Regions from separate parts of the Homo sapiens genome. Here all the other regions are linked to region 2. The links are contacts of gene promoters, found by promoter capture Hi-C in human tissues and cell types (Jung and others, 2019). All regions are on one chromosome and are shown on one strand. The core of a region is centred on a gene start or on the middle of the fragment in contact, and the rest is flanking DNA. Distances in the headings are between cores, read along the strand shown. Region 1 overlaps BICRAL (BICRA like chromatin remodeling complex associated protein). Region 2 holds the start of DNPH1 (2'-deoxynucleoside 5'-phosphate N-hydrolase 1). Region 3 overlaps CNPY3-GNMT (CNPY3-GNMT readthrough).

Region 1 (3,758 bases), core at 458-2,957, 440 kb before region 2:
CTATGCTATGCACTGTTCTGCTCTTTTTTGAATTGGAACATGAGAATTGAGGTCCATGTAATTTTGAGTTTCAGTAGTTTTTTGCTCACATTAGTCTCATTTTTGTTTTTCCTCTTGTAGCTGCCATTTATCAAATCGAAATTATTTCCTCAGAGAAAAAGGTTTAGGTATCCTAAGACTTTAAAATCTCAGTACGTTTTTTTTTAAAGTATGTTGTCTCATTCTATTGAGAAGTTATACAACATACAGGCTTCTAGGTCTAGCCAGGCCATCTAGTTTAGTCAAGACAGCTGTGTAACAAACGTAGCCTTGAGGCCTGGCACGGTGGCTCATGCCTGTAATCCCAGCACTTTTGAGGCTGAGGCGGGCGGATTACCTGAAGTCAGGAGTTAGAGACCAGCCTGTCCAACGTGGTGAAACCCCGTCTGTACTAAAAATACAAAAAAGCTAGCCGAGTGTGGTGGCAGGTGCCTGTAATCCCAGCTACTTGGGAGGCTGAGGCGAGAGAATCACTTGAACTGGGGAGGCAGAGGTTGCAGTGGCCCGAGACCCCACCATTGCACTCCAGTCCGGGAAACAAGAACGAAACTCCCATCTCAAAAAAAAAAAAAAGAATTGAATCCAGGATTGATCCAGAAATTGAGAATAGGGTAGAAAAGACCCTGATATAAAGACCTGAAGATAAATCCTTAAAAGAAAAGGTTGTTTCCTGAATTTTGAATTGTGGACATATCTTCTGGGTTTTGGGAAGTAGGATAGTCAAGTTATGTGGAACCTAATAGCAGAATATGGATAAAAACACAGGTCAGGGCCAGGCACAGTGGCTCACACCTGTAATCCCAGCACTTCGGGAGGCCGAGGTGGGCGGATCACGAGGTCAGGAGTTCGAGACCAGCCTGACCAACGTGGTGAAACCCCGTTTCTACTAAAAATACAAAAATTAGCCGGGCTTGGTGGGCACATGCCTGTAATCTCAGCTACTCAGGAGGCTGAGACAGGAGAATGGTTTGAACCTGGGAGACGGAGGTTGTAGTGAGCTGAGATCGCGCCACTGCACTCCAGCCTGGAGACAAAAAACACAGGTCAGGAAGAAGCATCTAGAGCAGGTGATGAATAGATGACCTTACTAAAATGAGAAAGAACCAAGTCAGTGATGAAATCATTAATTTCTCTGGATTAAGGATCATGGATTTTATTTTGTGCTTTCTCTTGTTGATTCTTCTCAAATCGTTGTGTTTAGTAATTGCTAGGGAGAGTAGTTTAAAACTTAGATTTTTGATGCAGATGTCAGAATTATACCATCTTTGCATATGTCCACATTGGAAAGTTTTTGTAAGGAGCATTTGTTGGATACCTCTGTGCAGTCTGTGTCCAGTCTAGACCACTAGGTGGGTGGAGTGACTTCCAGTTTTTGAAGGGAAGTCACTTCTGGTTTTTCTCCCCTTGTTTTTTATGGTAAATGCCAAAGTAATTATAATCTTTGACTAGACTAAAATCCAATAAAGCTTGAAAGGAGGGGGAAATCTAAAACTGCTTAGAGGGAAACAGTAGCTTCTTTAACCTTGTTGGAATTTTAAGACCGGCAAGATCTCTGCACTCATGAAATTTACAGTATAGTGGGGAAGGACAGAAAATAGTTAAAAAATCAAGATAATGACAGATTAAGAAAAAATATTAAGTGGCTGGTGGATCTAAAAGAGTATGTTGGGAATGACCATTTTGGCTAGTAAGGGTCAAAGAAAGTCTTTTCATAGAGGTGATATTTGAGCTGAGACGTGAAACATGAACTTGTGCTAGCCATGTGAAAAGCTGGGGAGACATTTCAGACCTGGGAACAAGTTCAAAGACCTGGAAGGCTGGTTGTTAGACTGGAGAGAAGGCTCCTCTGAGCAAGGGGAGAAATTATGAATAGGGTAGGAATGAGATGGAGTTGGAGAGATCCTATAGGTCGTCTTGTATTACTCCATAGGGGGATTTTTGGATTTAATTCTAATGGCAATGAGAGGGGTTTTAATTTGGGCAGTGATAATGTTTTTAAAAATAACTGGCTATTTAGAGGAAGAGAGGAAACAGGGAAGTTAGGAGGCTATTGTAGTCAGCCCAAGATCGATAGTATCTCAGGCAAGTAAAGTGGCAATGAGATACAGCAGAGTAGACAGCAACTTTTACATATGTATTTTGGAGGTGGAATCAGAAGGATTTGCTTAATGGGTTGGCTGTGGAGGGAGAGGGAGGAATCAAGGGTGCCTTCAGGTTGCAGGCTCCAGCCTTGGGCTGCTGATGGTACCATTTGCTGGTTGGAGAAGACTGGAGGAGGAACAGGTGGAGAGGAGTGGGTAGCAAGAGTTCTGTGTAAATACTTGGGAGGCATCCAAGCGGAGAGTTAAGTAGGCACTGAATATTTAAGTTGAGCTGAGGGGAGTGATCTAGACTGGACATAAATTTTGGGAGTCACTAGTATACAGATGGCATGTCATGGAACTGATTGAGATTGTTTGTGGCCTTAAGATCAAGCCCTGCGAGACTGGAGTAATAAAACTCTGGTCTCCCACACAGCCAGCTCTGTGTGGGGAAAAAAAAAAGCCCTAAAACACTAACAACGGCTAAAGCTTGGGCAAAGGAGACTGAAAAGGTTCAGCCATTAAAGTGGGAGAGTATTTTATTATTTTCAAGAAAGAGGGAATGGTCACCTCTGTCAAATGCTGCTGAGAAGTTACACAATGAGAATAGAGAAATGTCTATTTGGATTTGACAACATGATGGTGACTGTTTTGACAAGTGGTCCAAGCCACATTGGGATGCTTCGAAGAGAGAATAGGAAGTGAGGTGAATATCGACAGCTCGTTAGGGAAATTTTGCTGCTGTAAAGTGGAGAGAAGCAGCTTAGTGGCTTCAGAGGGAGATGGGGTCAAAGAAGAGGGCTTTTTTTTTTTTTTAATTTTTTTTTAAGACAAGATGTCACTCAGTCATCCAGGTTGGAGTGCAATGGTGCAAATTACGGCTTACCACAGACTCAACCTACTGGGCTCAAGTGATCCTCCTACCTCAGCCTCTCCTGAGTAGCTGGGACCACAGGTGTGCACCACTGTAACCCAACTAATTAAAAAAAAATTTTTTTTATAGAGACAGGGTCTCCCTATGTAAAGAAGAAGGCTTTTCTTTTAAACAATGGGAACTAGATAGGCTAATGAGAATATTTAATAGAGAAGGTGAGACTAATCCAGAAGAGAGACCAAGACTACCAAGGGAGCAGCATTCTTTTTTTTTTTTTTTTTTTTGGAGACAGTTTTGCTCTTGTTGCCCAGGCTGGAGTGCAGTGGCGCAATCTCAGCTCACTGCAACCTCCACCTCTTGGGTTCAAGCAATTCTCCTGCCTCAGCCTCCCAAGTAGCTAGAATTACAGGTATGCACCACCACACCCAGCTAATTTTGTATTTTTAGTAGAGACGGGTCCACCATGTTAGCCAGGCTGGTCTCGAACTCCTGACCTCAGGTGATCCACGCACCTAGGCCTCCCAAAATGTTGGGATTATAGGTGTGAGCCACCATGCCTGGCCGGGAGCAGCATTCTTAAGGAATTCAAGACACAGGAAGAACACTTGCCTTTAGTGGGAGCAAGACAACGCAGTGTGGCAGAAGACAAAGAATGGGGGCACAAGTGCAAGGTGAATTGGAGGTAGAATATAGGACTTAACTTTCTGACGGCTTCTGTTTTCTCAGTGAAGTCTGAGGCAAGGCCGGTGACTTAAACAAAGAAG
Region 2 (3,924 bases), core at 1,335-3,834:
AGGAGTTCAAAACCAGCCTGGCCAACATGGTGAAACCCCATCTTTACTAAAAATACAAAAATTAGCTGGGTGTGGTGGTGCACACCTGTAATCCCAGCAACTTGGGAGGCTGAAGCAGGAGAATCACTTGAACCCAGGAGGCGGAAGTTGCAGTGAGCTGAGATCGCACCACTGCACTCCAGCCTGGGCAACAGAGCAAAACTCCATCTTAAAAAAAACAAGAAAAAGTACAGATTCGGGCCAGGCGCGGTGGCTCACGCCTGTAATCCCAGCACTTTGGGAGGCCAAGGCGGTAGGATCACGAGGTCAGGAGTTTGAGACCAGTCTGGCCAACATGGTGGAACCCCATCTCCACTAAAAATTAAAAAATTAGCCAGGCGTGGTAGCAGGCGCCTGTAATCCCAGCTACTCGGGAGGCTGAGGCAGGAAAATTGCTTGAACCTGGGAGGAGGAGGTTGCAATGAGCGGAGATCACTCCACTGCACTCCACCCTGGGCGACAGAGCAAGACTCTGTCTTGGGGGAAAAAAAAAAGTACATATTCGAAGGCTTTATCCCAGATGATCAGAACCTGCATTTTTAACAGGCTCCCTCAGATGACACTAAAGACCTGGAGAGCCACCAGGCAGTCTGGATATACCATGAACTAATGAGCTGTAAGCTTCAGGGTCCTCCACTTGCACAGGCCCTTTCCAAACCATCAGCAACTTTGTATTGTGATTTTTGTCTTTTTAAAGAGGTCTCCCAGAATTGCATGAGGTCCCACAAATTGTGGGTCTGCTCTTGGGTAGGATAAGTGGAAACCACTTAAGGTTTTCTGAGCAGAAGCACAAGCATTCAAGATACAATTTTCAAACTGGAAGGATCTGCAAGATTCCAGACCAGCACATCAAATATGCTTTAGAGAAATCCAGCCAGACTCAGCGGCTCATGTCTGTAATCCCAACACTTTGGGAGGCTGAGGCAGGCAGATCACTTGGGCTCAGGAGTTCAAGACCAGCCTGGCCAACATGGCAAAATCCCGTCCCTATAAAAAATACAAAACTTAACCAGGTATGGCGGCACACACCTGTAGTCCCAGCTACTTGGGAGGCTGAGGTGGGAGGATTGCTCAAGCCCGGGAGGCAGAGGTTAGCAGTGAGCTGAGATTTTGCCACTGCACTCCAGCATGGGTAATAGAACAAGACTGTTTCCAAATAAATAACTAAATAAATAGAAAGAGAAAGAAAAACCCAGCAGCCAGGAGCAGAACACAATAATGGCCTGAAAGAGAATATGAGGCCAGCATGGGGGCTCACATCTATAGTCCCAGCACTTCGGGAGGCCTGAGGCGGGAGGATCACTTGAGGCTAGGAGGTCGGGACCAGACTGGGCAACATAGTGAGACTCCCAATCTCTACAGAAAAATTTTGAGCCAGGCATGGTGTCGTGCCCCTGCAGTCCTTGCTAATAGGAGGCTGAGGCTGGAGGATCATGAGTTTAGGAAGCCGAGGCTGCAGTGAGCTATGATCGCACCACTGCACTCCAGCCTGGGCGACAGAGAGGCCCTTGTATCAACAAAACAAAAATGTGAGAGAGGGTAATAGTGAGAACTGGGGTCAGCCAGGTCTAAAAGAGTGCTGATGTCTTCACAGAAAAAGGGGAGGCAGGCCCTGGGCGGTGGCTCCTGTCTGTAATCCCAGCACTTTGGGAGGCCGAGGCGGGCAGATCACCTGAGGTCAGGAGTTCGAAACCAGCCTGACCAATATGGTGAAACACCGTCTCTACTAAAAATACAAAAAGTAGCCGGGTGTGGTGACGCGTGCCTGTAGTCCCAGCTACTCGGGAGGCTGAGGCAAGAGAATCACTTGAACCCGGGAGGTCGAGGTTGCAGTGAGCCGAGATCACGCAACTGCACTCCAGCCTGGGCGACAGAGTGAGATTCCGTTTCAAAAACAAAACAAAACAAAACAAAAAAAGTTGGTGGGGAGGCAGGAGGATACCTTTCGTGTTGGGTGGTGGAAAAGATTCCAGCGGGTGAGGTGGGAACTGAGCCCAAGCAAAGCAGCCCAATCTACCTTCTTTCTGTTGCACCCTACAAACGCTCTGAAAGCAGCTGAAGACAGAGTTCTCCAAGAAGGAACCAAAGGTCAAGATAATGCTGAGTCTGCCTTACACCCGCAGGCTTGCTGGGACCCACGCAGCCCGAGCCCCGGCCCGTTTCCTTCTCGGGCTGGGGCGCTGGATGGAGCACCGGGGTAGGAGGGCGGGCTCCGGGCGCCGGGAGCGCAGCTGCCGGGGGTCGGGGGGGCGGACAGGCCGGGTCCCTGCCACCCCAGCCAGGTCCGCGCCCGCGTCCCCGCGTCCCGCGGCCCCAGGGCCTCACCGCGCGCGCCCAGCTCGGCGGCCGCCACGTGCTCGGTGAGCACTGTCCCGAATCGCCGCAGCCGAGACACGATCCGCTCGTACAGCGTCCTGTCCTCGCGTCCGCCGCGAATGCTCCCGCAGAAGTACAGGGCCGGGCGGCCAGGCTCCCCGCGCTCCCAGCTCTCGCTGCGCCCCGGCACCATGGCAGCAGCCATTCCCCAGCCGCCCGCGCTCTCCGGCGCCAGGGGGCGCCAGCCCGCGGCCACGTGACCCCGCCCGGCCCAGCGCAGAGCCCGGCTGCTGAGTCCACACCTGTGGAATGGGGACGACGAACTGGGAGGATCCAGCCGGGACCCTTTCGGGAACACACCCTTCCTGGACTTGACGTTCGGATGCCTAACACGCACCTTAACTTGACCTTGTCCAGGCAGAACTCGAGGGCTTCCCCACCTCACCCGCTTCTGCTCCCCTCCTCCCCGCCGTCTTCCCCAGCTGCATCCTCCCAGCTGCTCAGGCCCAAGACCCTCGGAGTCATCTGGATCGTTCCCTTTCTCTCAAACTCTGCGTCCCATCCATTGACAACTCGTGTGGATTCGTCCTTCCAAATCTGAAATCTCACGACCGCCTACAGGGCCACCACCCTGGTCTAAGCCTCCTCTGGGCTCTCCACAGCCTCCTAACAGGTGTCCACATGTCGTGAGCTGCTCAAGGTCAGACAGAACCAGGTCCACCCACCTTTGTGTCTGTCCACAAGATCAGGTTTTTACTGATGCTATTTCAATCACAAAAGCTAGGCGTCACACGGAGTTCCCAAGAAGTCAGTTCTCCTTAGGACCACCTGTTCACTCGGTAGTCAGAGCCGCGGGCATGCAAGCTGGAGCCACTCCACAAGTCAGACTGTATTGCAAACCATCCATAGTATTATATGTAAGGATATAAATGTTACAGGTTAAAATTTCACATCAAACACAAGAACATTTAACATCAAGAGAAAAGGGGTTAACGAACCAGTCCAAGGAGAGTGCTGTGGACAGAGTCCCGGCCTGATGGGGATAGTCATCAAGAGCTTGCAAGGAAGAGTCCTTGATTTGGGCAGAGCCTTCAGAGGCAGACACCAGGTGCTGGGCACGAGTGATAGCAAGACTCGGTCTGTTAAGGTGGCCGTGTCTAGCTGCTGAAGTCCTGATCATTTTATGGTCCTTGAGTCCTCTGATGAGGACTTATAGTAAAGGGTGATGCCCTTATCTGGTTGGGTGTTGTCTCCATTGGTTAGGCGAACATCTGGACCCTGTTGGCTTGATGCCTTTTGAAATGTAAGATGAAGTTTTTTAAAACTTTATTTATTTATTTATTTATTATTTTTGGTGACAAGGTCCCTGTCGCCCACACTGGAGTGCAGAGGCACGATCATTGCTCACTGCAGCCTCAAACTCGTGCCTCAAGTTTGAGGGTTCAAGGAATCCTCCCACCTCAGCTTCCTGAGTAGCTAGGACTACAGGCACGTGCCACCATGCTGAGCTAATAAAAAAAAAATTGGCTGGGCTCGGTGGCTCATGTCTGTAATCCCAGCACTTTGGGA
Region 3 (3,567 bases), core at 603-3,102, 280 kb before region 2:
ATCCCAAAAAAAAAAAAAAAAAAAAAGACAATGAAAGTACACTCCACAGTGTGGGAGCGAGAATGAGCATAGGGGCTCAAAGGCCCTGTTAAAAATGTTTGTGAGTTTAAATACCCTCTACTTGGGGAATGCCCTATGTAAATGAAGAAGATGAAGTAAAGTTACAATTGCAAAGTTATTAATGATGTATGCCCTAAGGAGAGGATATTTCCTGTTATAGATGAAGTGTGAATTGGCCTTATGTTACCTGCCTCCAGACCCTATTTTCCTGCCTCATCTGCCCCCTGAGATGTGATCCCCATAAATCTTTATGGGAGGCAGAGGGACAGATGGTCTTTTTTCTGTAACTGCTTCATGCTGGCTTGGGGGATGGTCCCCACCTATTAGGGATCATGGAACTCTCACCCTGCTCTGTCTAGTGGAGGCAGGGTAGCTTTTTGATGGCCAGGGGTGATGTCTTCACCTGGAACTGGCTGGAAGCTTTGTTGCATGATCAGCTGAAGCTTGATGGTCTCTAGGCAAGAGGAAATGAATTTGGTTAAAACATTTAATGGGAACTGCAGGGGGTGGATACCTATGCTGTTAGAAATGTTTGTTATATTGACCAGGCGCAGTGGCTTACGTCTGTAATCCCAGCACTTTGGGAGGCCGAGGCAGGCAGATCACGAGGTCAGGAGTTCAGGATCAGCCTGGCCAACATAGTGAAACCCTGTCTCTACTAAATACAAAAAAATTAGCCGGGCGGGGTGGTGCATGCCTGTAATCCTAGCTACTCAGGAGGCTGAGGCAGGAATGTTGCTTGAACCTGGGAGGTGGAGGTTGCAATAAGCTGAGATTGAGCCACTGCACTCCAGTCTGGGGGCGAGGGAGTGAGACTCCGTCTCAGAAAAAAAAAAAAAGAAAGGTTTGTCATAGAGATTTGCAGGAGAAAAAAAACTTGGTCTGTTTTAGAATCTATGTGTTTCCTTAAAGTCCTAGCATGAGCGACTCCATTTTGGTTTGGTTTGTTGAGGCCTAGTGCATGAGCCTAGTCCAAAACAATGGCCTTCCATAATTTTGTTTAAAAAATTACCCTTTTTGGTTAGGCTGTCATTTAAGTGAGAGTGTGACCAAACCTTAGGGACTTAGCGCCACTCTCAGTTACCATCATTTTGGGTTTCCTATCTCAGCACATCATTTATAGCTTATAGTGTCCTTATGGTTGCACATTTTTTTAGCTCCTGTTATTCCAGTTGAAGAGAGACCATTTGACATTCTAGAGATGGCTGCACGCAAGCATTTAAAACCTTTGAGAGAATAGAGCGCACCAGGGAGACTATTATTATGACTATCGGGAGGATGATACCAAGAGTTTGGAGTATGCTCCTTACCCAGGTTCCCCATAAACCAAACCACCTAAAATCACATAGATCAAAGAATGAACTAGATAAAGAGTTTACTCATGGCCGGGCGTGGTGGCTCATGTCTGTAATCCCAGCACTTTGGGAGGCCGAGATGGGCAGATCACCTGAGGTCGGGAGTTCAAGACCAGCCTGACCAACATGGTGAAACCCCGTCTCTACTAAAAACACAAAATTAGCCAGGCATGGTGGTGCATGCCTGTAGTCCCAGCTACTCGGGAGGCTGAGGCAGGAGAATCGCTTGAACCCGGGAGGCAGAGGTTGCGGTGAGCCGAGATCGTGCCATTGCACTCCAGCCTGGGCAACAAGAGCAAAACTCCGTCTCAAAAAAAAAAAAAAGTTTACTCATTTGACTAAGCAGTCTCTTTGTTAATCCCCTACCACTATATTTCTATAATCTTCATGTGATGTATTTCTCCGTAGGCCACAAGTGCCAGCAGCTGCACAGATACTTCTCTGTTTAGCCAATTCTATCTTAACTTTCACAAGAGAATTTAAAGTCTATTGTATAACTGTAGCCTTTACAGTAGAATTTGCTATAGAACCCATCATGAGGGATACTTTTTTTTTTTTGAGACGAAGTTTCGCTTTTGTTGCCCAGGCTAGAGTGCAATGGCACCATCTTGGCTCACTGCAACCTCTGCCTCCCGGGTTCAAGCGATTCTCATGCCTCAGCCTCCCGAGTAGCTGGGATTACAGGTGCACCACCATGCCCAGCTAATTTTTATGTATATATATATATATATTTTTTTAGTAGAGATGGGGTTTCACCACATTGGCTAGACTGGTCTCAACCTCCTGACTTCAGGTGATCCACCTGCCTCGGCCTCCCAAAGTGCTGGGATTACAGGCATAAGCCACCGTGCCTGGCCCCATTAAAGTTTTTTACCTGCACTGGGCCTTCATTTTTTATCTATTAAAGTATAAAGTTATCCATATATAAGGTTGGCTGCAAACTCCTTCACAAATAAAAGTACATCCCATTAGTGCACATAACAGATGCCTTTTCCACTTTTATTGTTCATAGAGGCATAAGCAAGAACAAATATTGAAAGATAAGAGTTTTATGACAGTAGAAGTCTTAATCTGTGAATTTGGGAAAAGCTTATTTACATCAAAGATGCCATCCTCGGTCAGGCGCAGTGGCTCACGCCTGTGATCCCAGCACTTTGGGAGGCTGAGGCGGGCGGATCACCTGAGATCAGGAGTTAGAAAGCAGCTTGTCCAACATGGTGAAACCCCGTCTCTACTAAAAATATAAAAATTAGCCTGATGTGGTGGCGAGCACCTGTATACTTGGGAGGCTGAGGTAGGAGAATCGCTATTATAAAAAGTAGAGGTTCCTCTTCAAAGACTTTCCTCCCCATCTAATTAGGGATAAATAGTAACTTCTCTTAGAAGCAAAATTTATTCAAAGATCTGTGGTGACATTCTTAAATATCTGCAAGTCATAATAAAGAAATCAATGTCCTTTATGTTCTTAGCTCCCACAATGTAGCCTAAATATTTGCCCTGGCATGCTTATACTGGTCCAAACAAACATTAGGTCATAGCCTGTTCCTCATCCTTATTTGAAGGTGTTTTTACCTTTCTCAGCATTCCACAAGTTACTTCCCCTTCCTTTGTTCTCCTCTGCCTTTGCCTCTTTTAAAAGTTCTAAGTTGCTAGCCAATCGGGACAAATACAAAATGTGAAGTCCCATTCCAGCCAATGGAAACCGGACACAGCAGTAGGGTGGACGCGTCAGGTTATAAATGACCCTGTCTCCTTTGTTCAGTGTACTCTCATGGCAAAACTGCTGACGAGGGTACCCTTTCTGCAGAAAGTAAAAATGGCCTTCCTGAGGAAATTGAATTTATGTTCAAGTGCTATTTCTTTACGGCACTGGGGAACAAGCATTTCTTTTTTAATTTTTTTTATATTTAATATTAAACATTTAATATATTAAGTGAATACATTCAAATCTGCAAACAATACATCTAGGTTGTAGAAGAGTTAAAAAAATCCCTCCACTCAGTTTTTGCCAAAACACCACCTGTAAGCACTGAGAAGCCTACTGATGCACGCATTATCCTTTGGGCCAATAGAAACAAACGTTTTAATAAAATGCTTTCCCAGTGGTCAAATTGTCTTCCTGAGTAAAGCTAAACTTGTTGTAGTGAGAACA

What was found. Contacts are between HindIII fragments. The study calls those that stand out against the background at their distance.
Region 1: a fragment that was not itself captured here is called in contact with the fragment with the promoter of DNPH1 in region 2 in 1 of the 25 tissues and cell types used here (adrenal gland).
Region 3: a fragment that was not itself captured here is called in contact with the fragment with the promoter of DNPH1 in region 2 in 2 of the 25 tissues and cell types used here (mesenchymal stem cells and mesendoderm cells).

The regions. Positions count from the first base shown.
Region 1 is chr6:42,784,965-42,788,722 of GRCh38, forward strand. All of the region lies in intron 1 of BICRAL (BICRA like chromatin remodeling complex associated protein), which reads left to right. LOC401261 (a long non-coding RNA gene) reads left to right here. Exons shown (of 2, transcript NR_134654.1): 1 at 1-367. Among named protein-coding and RNA genes, the nearest start is that of BICRAL, 4.8 kb to the left of the region's middle. The HindIII fragment of the contact is 4,014 bases long and covers 1-3,714 here.
Region 2 is chr6:43,226,897-43,230,820 of GRCh38, forward strand. It overlaps DNPH1 (2'-deoxynucleoside 5'-phosphate N-hydrolase 1), which reads right to left and starts at 2,585. Exons shown (of 4, transcript NM_006443.3): 1 at 2,365-2,585. The coding sequence starts at 2,560. RefSeq lists silencers at 2,194-2,383, 2,444-2,883 and an enhancer at 2,367-2,866. The HindIII fragment of the contact is 36,780 bases long and covers 1-3,924 here.
Region 3 is chr6:42,951,608-42,955,174 of GRCh38, forward strand. The region is part of intron 1 of CNPY3-GNMT (CNPY3-GNMT readthrough); the gene reads left to right. Among named protein-coding and RNA genes, the nearest start is that of GNMT, 7.4 kb to the right of the region's middle. The HindIII fragment of the contact is 5,528 bases long and covers 1-3,567 here.